Linked DNA regions of Homo sapiens: region 1 is linked to region 2. The links are contacts of gene promoters, found by promoter capture Hi-C in human tissues and cell types (Jung and others, 2019). All regions are on one chromosome and are shown on one strand. The core of a region is centred on a gene start or on the middle of the fragment in contact, and the rest is flanking DNA. Distances in the headings are between cores, read along the strand shown.

Region 1 (5,507 bases), core at 2,166-4,665, 71 kb after region 2:
AGCTGGAACCACAGGTGCATGCCACCACTCCCACCTAATTTTTTATTTTTTGTAGAGACAGGGTCTCCCTATGTTGCTTAGGCTGGTCTCAAACTCCTGGGCTCAAGTGATCCTCCCACCTTGGTCTCCCAAAGTGCTGGGATTACAGGCATGAACCACCACTCCCAGCCCATGATTATATTCTTAATGTATAAAAATGAAATAACAGCTATAACAAAAATCTTCCTTGTGTCCTACTCCCTCATCCCTGAGGTAACACTCTGTGTTTAGTATATAACCTTCCAGACTTTTTCCCATTTGCCTACATACATATTTACATAAAGCAAAATAGATTTGTTGTGTGGTTTTAAAAATCTTTTTTCTTTACATAAATGGTAACATCTTGCAACTTGATTCTTTCACTTCATGATGTGTCTTAGATTTCCTTCCTTCCCAGTACTTAGAGGGTTACCCCATTCATTTAAACTCCTGCATAATATTCCATAGTATGGATGTATCATAGTTTATTTAATAGTTCCCCCATTGATGGATGTTTAGATTATGTCTAGTTTTCTTGTTACATGCATTGCTGCAATGAAATCCATGCTTCTTTGTGAACATGGGCAAGTATTTCTGTAGAATAGATATCTAGAAATGGAATTGTTGGAGTGAAGCCTATGTAGATATGAAATTTTAATTGCCGTCAAAAATGTTGTGCCTACTTACACTATCGTCAGCAGAGTATGACAGCATTCATTTCCCCACACCTTTTCACCACTGGCTATTCTCCAACTTTTTGTTGATGTTATGGATGAATAAAAGGTATCCCATCTAAATTTGAATTTTTCTGATTACTTATGAATTTAATGAAATGTTTTTATGTGTTTATTGAACATTTGTGTTTCTTCTCTGAGTTTTCTGTCCTTTGTTCATGATCTCGTTGAATTTTTAAAATCATTTTCACATTGATTTATAGAAGGAATTCGACACATAAATGATTTTGGAAAAAATGCTCACATTCAAAGTAACTGGCTTTTTTTTTTTTTTTTTTTTTTAATTGAGACAGAGTCTCGCTCTGCCGCCCAGGCTGGAGTGCAATGGCGCCATCTTGGCTCACTGCAACTGCCACTGCCCGGGTTCAAGCGATTCTCATGCCTCAGCCTCCCGGGTAGCTGGGACTACAGGTGCGCACCACCATGCCCCGCTAATTTTTTTGTATTTTTAGAGATGGGGTTTCGCCTTGTTGGCCGGGCTGGTCTTGAACTCCTGACCTGAGGTGATCCGCCCACCTCGGCCTCCCAAAGTGCTGGGATTATAGACGTTAGCCGCCACCCCCGGGCAGTAACTGGCATTTTTTACAACAGTTTGTGTGTCACATTATTAGTTCAACTTACATAGACAAGTTATACACGAGCTCTAAATTAAAAATAAAACACATGACAATCATAGTCATCTAAGAAGAGGAATTATGACCACTTTAAAGTAGTTTCCCTCACCCTTAGTGTGATATCTTATTGGTAAGAAAAAAAAATGCTAGAACCAGACAATCCTGTTTTCTAGCTCTAGAGGAGAGATGGGATTCTGCGGCTTGTGTTCCAGATGGAGTCTCCTGATAACAAGAAGGTGTGGGAGATGGCTAGTAAGGGAGTGTACACCCTTCCTCCAGGGCTCCAGGACCCTGCCCCCTTTCTAACACCAATTGTTCCTGCCTGGAGGAAGACACTCTTTGCTGCCTGGCCCAAGGAAGAAAGATATGTGGTTGATGTGCCTCTGGCTTCTCCCACTCCACTGTCCCAACCAATAACTTGTAGGTAGTTCCTGGGCATTTCTGACAGGGGATCATTTGTAGAGATGCTTCCACATTTTGAGCTAAGTTTGTGGATTTTTAAATTATTTCTGTTCTATGATTTTTAGAGATTTGCTAGAGGTTGGATGGGTAGAGACTTGGCATGTTTTCAATCTGCCACTTGAAATACCACTTCTTAGGAAAACAATTTTGTGCCCTTATTATATCCTAGAGAAACTCAGGCAAAAGTACTATCAGGATACAAGTATAAGAATGTTCAAAGCAGCATTCTTTGTAATAACTAAAAACTAGAAATATCTCAGTATCCATACCCAGTAGATGAATCAATATATTGCAGTAGAATCATATAATGGAATACTCTATTATTCTATTATATAATAATAGAAGTATGTTAATACTTTATATAGTAATAGAAGTATTATTAATACTTATTAAAAGTATTATGTGTGTGTAATACTGAATGGAAGGATTATTAATACTTCTATTATTCATTAGAAACATAATGCAAGCCACATACATAATATTAACTTTTCTGGTAGTCACTTAAAAAATAAAACTAAAAAAGAAACAGGTGAAACATGTTAATATATTATATCCAAAATATTTTCATTTCAACATGCAGTCATTATATATGTTATTAATGAGATATTCTATTTTCATACTAAGTCTTCAAAATATCCAAAGGGGTATCATTTCTACATGTTGTTAGTATAAAAATTAATTGGGGAGTTTACATTCTTTTTTCCATACTAAGTCTTCGAAGTCTTAATTTGGTTGCTAAATTTTTATAAAAAAAAAAACCTTAATCTGTTCTGCTCAGCAGTCTAGGGAGACAAGTAAATAATAATAATAAAAATACTTAACCTGGCTGGATGTTAGGTAGCTCATGCCTGTAATCCCAGCATTTTGGGAGGCATAGGCAGGAGGATCACTTGAACCCAGTGGTTCAAGACTAGCCTGGCAACACAATGAAACCACATCTCTACAAAAAATTAAAAATATTAGCCAGGCATGATGGTGTGTGCTTATAGTCCCAGCTACTAGGGAGGCAGAGGTGGGAGGATCACTTGAGCCTGGGAGGTCGAGGCTGCAGTACGCAGTGATTGTGCTACTGCTCTCTAGCCTGGGCAACAGAGTGAAACCTTGTCTCAAAACAAACAAACAAACAAAACACCTTAGTCTATATTTAGATTTTGTAAAATTTGCAGTTGAAAAAGTAGCATCATATACCCAAGTTGTTGCAAACATAAATTTTCTAATGACTACATTGAGTATCAGCTTTTAAATTTAAAAATAATTAAAATGAATATATTAAAGATTCAGTTCCTCAGTCACACTAGTCACTAACAGTAGCCAAATATAGCTAGTGACTACCTTATTGGAAGCACAACACAGGCCTTGAAATGAATCAATCTCAGCAACATACATCTTAAATGTCCAAACAGATTATTGAGTGAAAGAAGTGATACAGAAAATAATATGTGTAATATGATTTCATTTATATAATGTTCAAGTAGGCAAAACTAAAATATGTTGTTTATGACTGACATATAATAGGTAAAACGACATTTTATTTTATTTTATTTTATTTTATTTTATTTTATTTTATTTATTTTTGAGACAGGGTCTGCAGTGGTGCAAATGCAGCTCACTGCAGCCTGGACCTTCCATGCTCAAGCGATCCTCCCATCTGAGCCTCTCCAGTAGCTAGGACTACAGGTGTGCACCAACATGCCCAGCTAATTTTAAAATTTGTCTAGAGATGAGGTCCTGCTGTATTGCTCAGACTGGTCTCGAACTTCTGGGCTCAAGCAATCCTCCTACCTTGGCTTCCCAAAGTGCTGTGATTACAAGTGTGAGCCACTGTGCCCAGCCAGAACTACATTTTACTTTACTATTTTATTTTATTTTATTTTATTTTATTTTATTTTATTTTATTTTATTTTATTTTTTGAGATGCAGTTTTGTTCTTGTCGCCCAGCCTGGAGGACAGTGGCGTAAACTCGGCTCACAGTAATCGCTGCCTCCTGGGTTCAAGCAATTCTCCCATCTCAGCCTCCCAAGTAGCTGGAATTATAGGCGCCCACCACCATGCCCAGCCAATTTTTGTATTTTTAGTAGAGATGGGGTTTCACCATGTTGGCCAGACTGGTCTTGAACTCCTGACCTCAGGTGATTCACCCGCCTTGGCCTCCCAAAGTGCTGGGATTACAGGCGTGAGCCACTGTGTCAGGCCAGAGCTACATTTTAAAAACAAGAAAATTATTACGAAAGTCAGGATAGTGGATATCTATAAGGGTTAGAGAGGGGGTTGTGATTGGAAAGGGGCACACCTGGGGCTTCTGGGATGCTAGTAATGATCTTTCGTAATGATATTATATGGGTATCTGCTTTATAATTATTAAACTGAATATTTGGCCAGATGCAGTGGCTCACATCTGTAATTGCAACACTTTGGGAGGCTGAGACAGGGGGATCACTTGAGCCCAGGAGTTTGAGACTAGTCTGGACAACAGAGTGAGACCCTGTCTCAGAAATAATAAAATAAAATAAAAACAACATTTATGTTATGTGCACTTTATGCACATTGTAGTTCTCAAATATTTTTAATGGGAGAAAAAAGTCAAATGGCTTCACTTGCAGCCCTGACATAGTTCCATGTGGGGCTTTTATAACAAGGTTTGGGAAAAGAGAGGAGGAAATGGAAGTTCTGCTGATCTTGGTGCCACCCAGAGTTGGATTCTAACAGGGACTTTGTGATCTAGAGAGGAGGCATTAAATATACAATTTGGTGGGAAGAGTGGGTAGGGGTGTGCTTGTGTGTGTGTGTGTGTGTGTGTGTGTGTGTGTGTGTGTGTGTATGTGGTGGTGGTGGTGGTGGTGGTGGAGACAGATGGACACAAAAAGGAAAATGTAAGAAAAGCTTTTAATGAAAGCAGAGCAGATACCACCATCTTGAAATTATCATGACCCAGATTTCCTCCACATGTAGGAGTTAGTCCTGTGTAGCAAATAGTTGTAGTTTGCATTTTGATCTAGAAAATAACTTTTTCATTTTCCAGAATTCTCAATGAAAATTATTTGACTAAATTACATAGGGATTCATTTGAAGGGCCTGCTATCCCTCCAGTATTTGTAAGTTAGTTAGTTAATCATATTTATTAGTTTTTAGTCATATTATCTGTAAAATGAATATAGGGGTTCAAATTAGATAATCTCTAAGATTTCTTTCAGCAATACAATTCTGCAATTCTGTAAGTTTGTATAGGGTCTCAGCCCATCTCTAGCATTAATACCTTCTATGCATTTTCAATTTTTTAATTATATAGACAGAATACAGACAGAAAAGAATTTCACATGGTAATAAGATCTGAGCAGTGATTGACACCCATATGAACCTTGTTTTATAAAAAGTGTTCACATCTCATCTTCCTATATTCAGTCTACAACCAATAGATCAAATCTAATCTACAGTCTGTTTTTAAATAGCCCATTAAGTTAAGAATGGTTTTTACACTTTTAAAGGACTGGGAAAGAAAAAGAAAAGAAACAAAGAGAAATATGCAACAAAGACCACATGCGGCCCACAAAGCCTAAAATATTTACCAACTGACCTTCCCAAAAAAGATTTGGGTCCGGGCACGGTGGCTCACGCCTGTAATTTCAGCACTTTGGGAGGTCGAGGTGGGAGGATCACCTGAGGTCAGGAGTTTGAGACCAG
Region 2 (5,180 bases), core at 1,649-4,148:
AAAATTGCTGGAACCTGGGAGGCGGAGGTTGCTGTGAGCCCAGCTAATCTGAAGGCTGAGGCATGAGAATCGCTTGAACCCGGGAGGCGGAGGCTGCAGTGAGCTGAGATCATGTCATTGCACTCCAGCCTGGGGCAACACAGTGAGACTTGGTCTCGAAAAACAAACAAACAAACAAACAAAAAATAACAATAATAATAATAGTCACTGATGAATCTTAGAAAGGGCCTACGCATCTTGATTTCAAAGACAAATATTTCTTAAACTCATTAAATGCAACTTATTAAAATCACTGATTATTTACTTACACTAAATAATTTTTTTTTTAGACAGATTATCGCTCTACTGCCCGGGCTGGAGTGCAGTGGCATGACGCGATCTCAGCTCACTGCAACCTCCCCCTCCCAGGTTCAAGTGATTCTCCTGCCTCAGCCTCCCAAGTAGCTGGGATTACAGGCGTGTGCCACCACTAGTAGCTGGGATTACAGGCGTGTGCTACCACACTCAGCTAATTTCTGTATTTTTAGTAGAGACGGGGTTTCACCATGTTGGTCAGGCTGGTCTGGAACTGCTGACCTCAGGTGAGCCACCAGCCTCAGCCTCCCAAAGTGCTGGGATTACAGGCGAAAGCCACCACGCCCGCCCATTACACTAAATAATTATTTAAACATGTGTACCACACAGCGACTTTGTGTCACTCTATTGTTCTAATTCAGAAAACAATGTCTTTTGTGTATACATATACATATACGCATAATTACAACTCCAATCGAAGGCTCCTTGTTTCTGAAGTAACAACTAAGACATTTTCATCAAAGATATATAATTGTATCTGGCCAAAATGCATTTTCTCCTTTCTACAAATTGCTAAAGTAACATTGTTACTTATACATCTTGAAATGTTACATATCAACTTACATCAATTTAAAATTGGTTACACATTTGAAAACATAACAAAGAAATTTAGTGTTTAGTGAAAAGTACACTCTGAACCTCCTTTGAAACCATACCACAGCGATTGGGGTCAGTATTCAGTGAACACTTAAATTAGGAGGTATTTTAAAATTATCATTAAAATTACACAAATAGGCCGGGCATGGTGACTCACGCCTTAATCCCAGCACTTTGGGAGGCTGAGGCCGGTGGATCACGAGGTCAGGAGATCGAGACCATCCTGGCTAACACGGTGAAACCCCTTCTCTACTAAAAAAAAAAAAAAAAAAAAAAAATTAGCCGGGCATGGTGGCACGCGACTGTAGTCCCAGCTACTCTGGAGGCTGAGGCAGGAGAATCGCTTGAACCCGGGAGGCGGAGGTTGCAGTGAGCCGAGATCACACCACTGCACTCCAGCCTGGGTGACAGAGCAAGAATCTGCCTCAAAAAAAAAAAAAAATAATTACACAAATAACAACTTTACACAATACAGCTAAACAAGAAGAAAAAAATTAAGTTCACTTATAAACACTTTGGTTTATATAATTTCAGACTTTTACATACATATATTTCTTTTTAACAAAAAAGAGGGATCACTATATATAATACTTTGTAATCTGCTTTTTTCAATGAATTCTCTTTCCATGCTAATAACCTTCTACAAGTAATCATATTTTAATGGCTATGTGTCATTCCACCAAGTAAAATAATCTTAATTTGTTTAATCCATAAGGCTGTTTGTAACCTTAACTTTTCACAGTAGGCGTTTTGTTTGTTTGTTTGCGATGGAGTTTCGCACAGTCTCCTGGGCTGGAGTGCAGTGGCGCGATCTCGGCTCACTGCAAGCTCCGCCTCCCGGGTTCAAGCGATTCTCCTGCCTCAGCCTCCCTAGTAGCTGGGATTACAGGTGCCCGCCCCCACGCCCAGCTAATTTCTGTATTTTTAGTAGAGACGGGGTTTCACCGTGTTAGCCAGCCTGGTCTCGATTTCCTGACCTCGTGATCCGCCTGCCCCGGCCTCCCAAAGTGCTGGGATTTACAGGCGTGAGCCACCGCACCCGGCCAACACAGTAGGTGTTTTAAAGCATTTTTATTACAATAGCATAAATCCGGCCTTGGCTTCTTCCTGTTTCTCTGAGAAATGTGGACAGTGGGGCTTGGGCCCGTGGGCTCTTCAAAGACTGTCAGTCACCAGGCGGGGACTTCACTGTGTCAACTGTGAACTACATACATGTTTAAAATAAATATAAACAAAAATTTAAAAATGATAAGCCCAAATTCTTCTAAAACTCAAGTCTCCACTTATAGTTCCTTATTTTCCTCACTCAGAGCTGGACGTTTCGTAGGGAAAAAGCAAGCTTTTGTGAAAATTCTAAAGGTATAATCCTAAATTATTTCTGGTTTCCGCTCACCCCTCTAGCGAATAAGAATCACAGCCCCAAATAATAATAATAAAATGATGTTTCATGCCCCCTGTTCTATCCCACTAATTTTGACCGCGCGTGAAAGGTTTTGAGGGTTCAATTGGATGAACCTCCCCGCCCCCCACACCTTTAAGATAAAAACTACATTCACAGGGATGTCTGTTTTAACATAAAACTCTTGTAAGGGCCCCACCCCATCTGTCGGGCAGCTGCCCCCAAACATCTCCAAAGCCGCAAACTAGGGAAGCCTAAAGGACAAACTGGTCAACAGGAGAATCAGACCACACGGGGTACATGTTTCGCTCCCTTCAGTCCATGAAAGATGAAATTATCGCAATAAAATACTGGGAAAAAAAACCCTCTTTTACCACAGATTTTGACAGTTTTTCCGGCTACAGAGTCACAGGAAAGTGGGAGTTAGTCGTTTTGCCCCACCATCCTCAAATTTCTTAGTGTTTAGAAAAGAAAATATCTCCTCAAGAGCTTCCCGCCAGGAGGCGAGAGGGTCACACTCCCGTAGGCTCCGGAGCTGCAGCCCTACCCACCAGGCGTCCCCGCGGCCTCTAGAATATTGTAGAATCTTCCCAAGAGCCCCCGCGGGAAGGAGGCCCGCCCCCTCATGAATAGCAAGCAGCCTCAGCTCTCGTAGTGCCCGCCTCCCTCATGAATATTGTAGATCTTCCCAGAAGCCCTAGCGGGAAGGAGGTTCCCCCCCGCCTCCCGCCTCCCCGCTTTATGAATAGCAAGAGAGCCAGCTCCCATGGTGCCCTCCGTCTCATGAATAACTAACAAGGGCGAGGTTCCTGGAGCCCAAACTCAGGCCTCAGCCACCCTTCGCTCCAAGCTGAAGACAAGAAGGGGCTGGAGCCGTTACGGTGTGGGGAAGGGGAGGGTGTAGCCCAAGATCCTGAACGTGGCGAGCCACGTCTCTGCTCCACTGCCTTTCCCTTCACCTAGTTTTGAGACAATTTTTGAGTTCCTCCCACCCCCACTGACTCCAGTAGGGCAAGTTACAAGGGGTTTCATCAAACCTTTTGGTGGAAAAAAACCTCCAGACATTCCTTTTTAAATTTGTCTTGCCGGTGCGGTGGCTCACGCCTGTAATCCCAACACTTTGGGAGGCCGAGGCGGGAGGCTCCCTTGAGTCCAGGAGTTTGAGACCAGCCTGGGCAACATAGGGAGACCCCCACCCCCAGCCATAACCCCGCTCCCGGTCTCTAAATAAACACATAAATAATAAATCTGTCTGGAATCAAAGGAAGATGTGTGTCTCCATCCTCTCAAGATGAAATCAAGACAAATCTTTCTAGCTAGGCCTTCCTGGCTAGAAGATTAAATTCTCATTCATTCATTTCTTCATTCATTCTGTAACTATTTATTGAAGCCTGCTCTGGGCCGGGCACAGGAGTAGGCCCTAAGGATGGAATAGAGAACAAGACAGATACGTTTCCTGCTTTAATGGAGTTTATTAGCCTAATGGGGAAGATAGAATGAACAGACAGAGCATCTACAGATGTTGAGAGCAGTTCCGGTGAGAGCAGCGTGACAGAGGAAATAAGACAGAATGATGGGGTGTGTGTGTGTTGGCGGAGAGCTACTTTAGATAGACTGATACTCAAGGTCCCTTTGATATGACGATTTGAGAACTGATGGAGGAGAAGGAGCCAGTCAGGAGAAGGGCTGAGGGAAGAGGGAATGGGGGAAAGATTCTACTTTTGTAGATCAATTCTACATTATACCCAACACAAAATATATAAGGAACTACATAAAGACTGAGTGGAAATTTAGGATTAGTTGGCATGCTGTTATTTTATATAGTCACATATATTCATCCATTTGGCTTTGTATCTTTTTTTTTCCTGACCTCAGGTGACCTGCGTACCTCAGCACTGCAAAGTGCTGGGATTACAGGTGTGAGCCACCACTCCTGGCCTTTTTTTTTTTTTTTTTTTTTTTTGAGACAGAGTCTTGCTCAGTCGCCCAGGCTGGAGTTCAGTGGCACGATCTCGGCTCACTGCAGCCTCTGCCTCCTGGGTTGAATTGATTATCTTGCTTCAGCCACCCAGTAGCTGGGACCACAGGTGGGCACCACCATTGTATTTTTAGCAGAGATGGGGTTTCGCTATGTTGCCCAGGCTGGTCTTAAACTCCGAGGCTCAAGCGATCTGCCTGCCTCCCAAAGTGTTGGGATTAAAGGTGTGAGCCACCGGGCCCAGCCCTGGCTTTGTATCCTTTTGCAGCCAATTCTTTTTTTTTTTTTTTTTTTTTTGAGATGAAGTCTGCCTCTGTTTCCCGGGCTGGAGTGCAGTGGTGTGATCTTGGCTCACTGCAACCTCCACCTCCCAGATTCAAGTGATTCTCCTGCCTCAGCCTCCCAGGTAGCTGGGATTACAGGCACCCACCACCATGCCCAGCTAATTTTTTTGTATTTTTTAGTAGAGATGGGGTTTCACCATGTTGGCCAGGCTGGTCTTGAACTCCTGACCTCAGGTGATCCACCCACCTCAGCCTGCCAAAGTGCTGGGATTACAGGCTTGCGCTACCGTGCCCAGCTGCAGACAATTCTTTTTTTTCCCCCTGTCTCCAACATTGATTAGAGGTCCTTGACCAAGTATCATCCCGTTGGCAGTGGGCCAGACGCACATAATGGAAACAAGGATCCTTAGTGGTGAGAATTTAGCTTTTACTCAAAGTGTCATGGGAAGTGTCATGGGAAGTCCTTGAAGAGTTTTAAGCAGAGAGTGCTATGATCTGATTTACATCATTAAAAGATTGCTCTGGCTTTTATGTGGAGAATAAATGAGGCTAAGAGTGGAGGGTAAGA

Evidence for each region. The method cuts DNA at HindIII sites, captures the fragments that hold promoters and counts their contacts. A contact is called where the count stands out against the background at its distance.
Region 1: a contact is called between a fragment that was not itself captured here and the fragment with the promoter of FBXO47 in region 2, in 6 of the 25 tissues and cell types used here (IMR-90 fibroblasts, bladder, pancreas and 3 more).

The regions. Positions count from the first base shown.
Region 1 is chr17:39,034,620-39,040,126 of GRCh38, forward strand. It overlaps the pseudogene LRRC37A11P. Among named protein-coding and RNA genes, the nearest start is that of LINC02079, 10 kb to the left of the region's middle. The HindIII fragment of the contact is 8,693 bases long and covers 1-5,507 here.
Region 2 is chr17:38,964,505-38,969,684 of GRCh38, forward strand. FBXO47 (F-box protein 47) reads right to left here and starts at 2,899. Exons shown (of 11, transcript NM_001008777.3): 1 at 2,725-2,899. The HindIII fragment of the contact is 17,690 bases long and covers 1-5,180 here.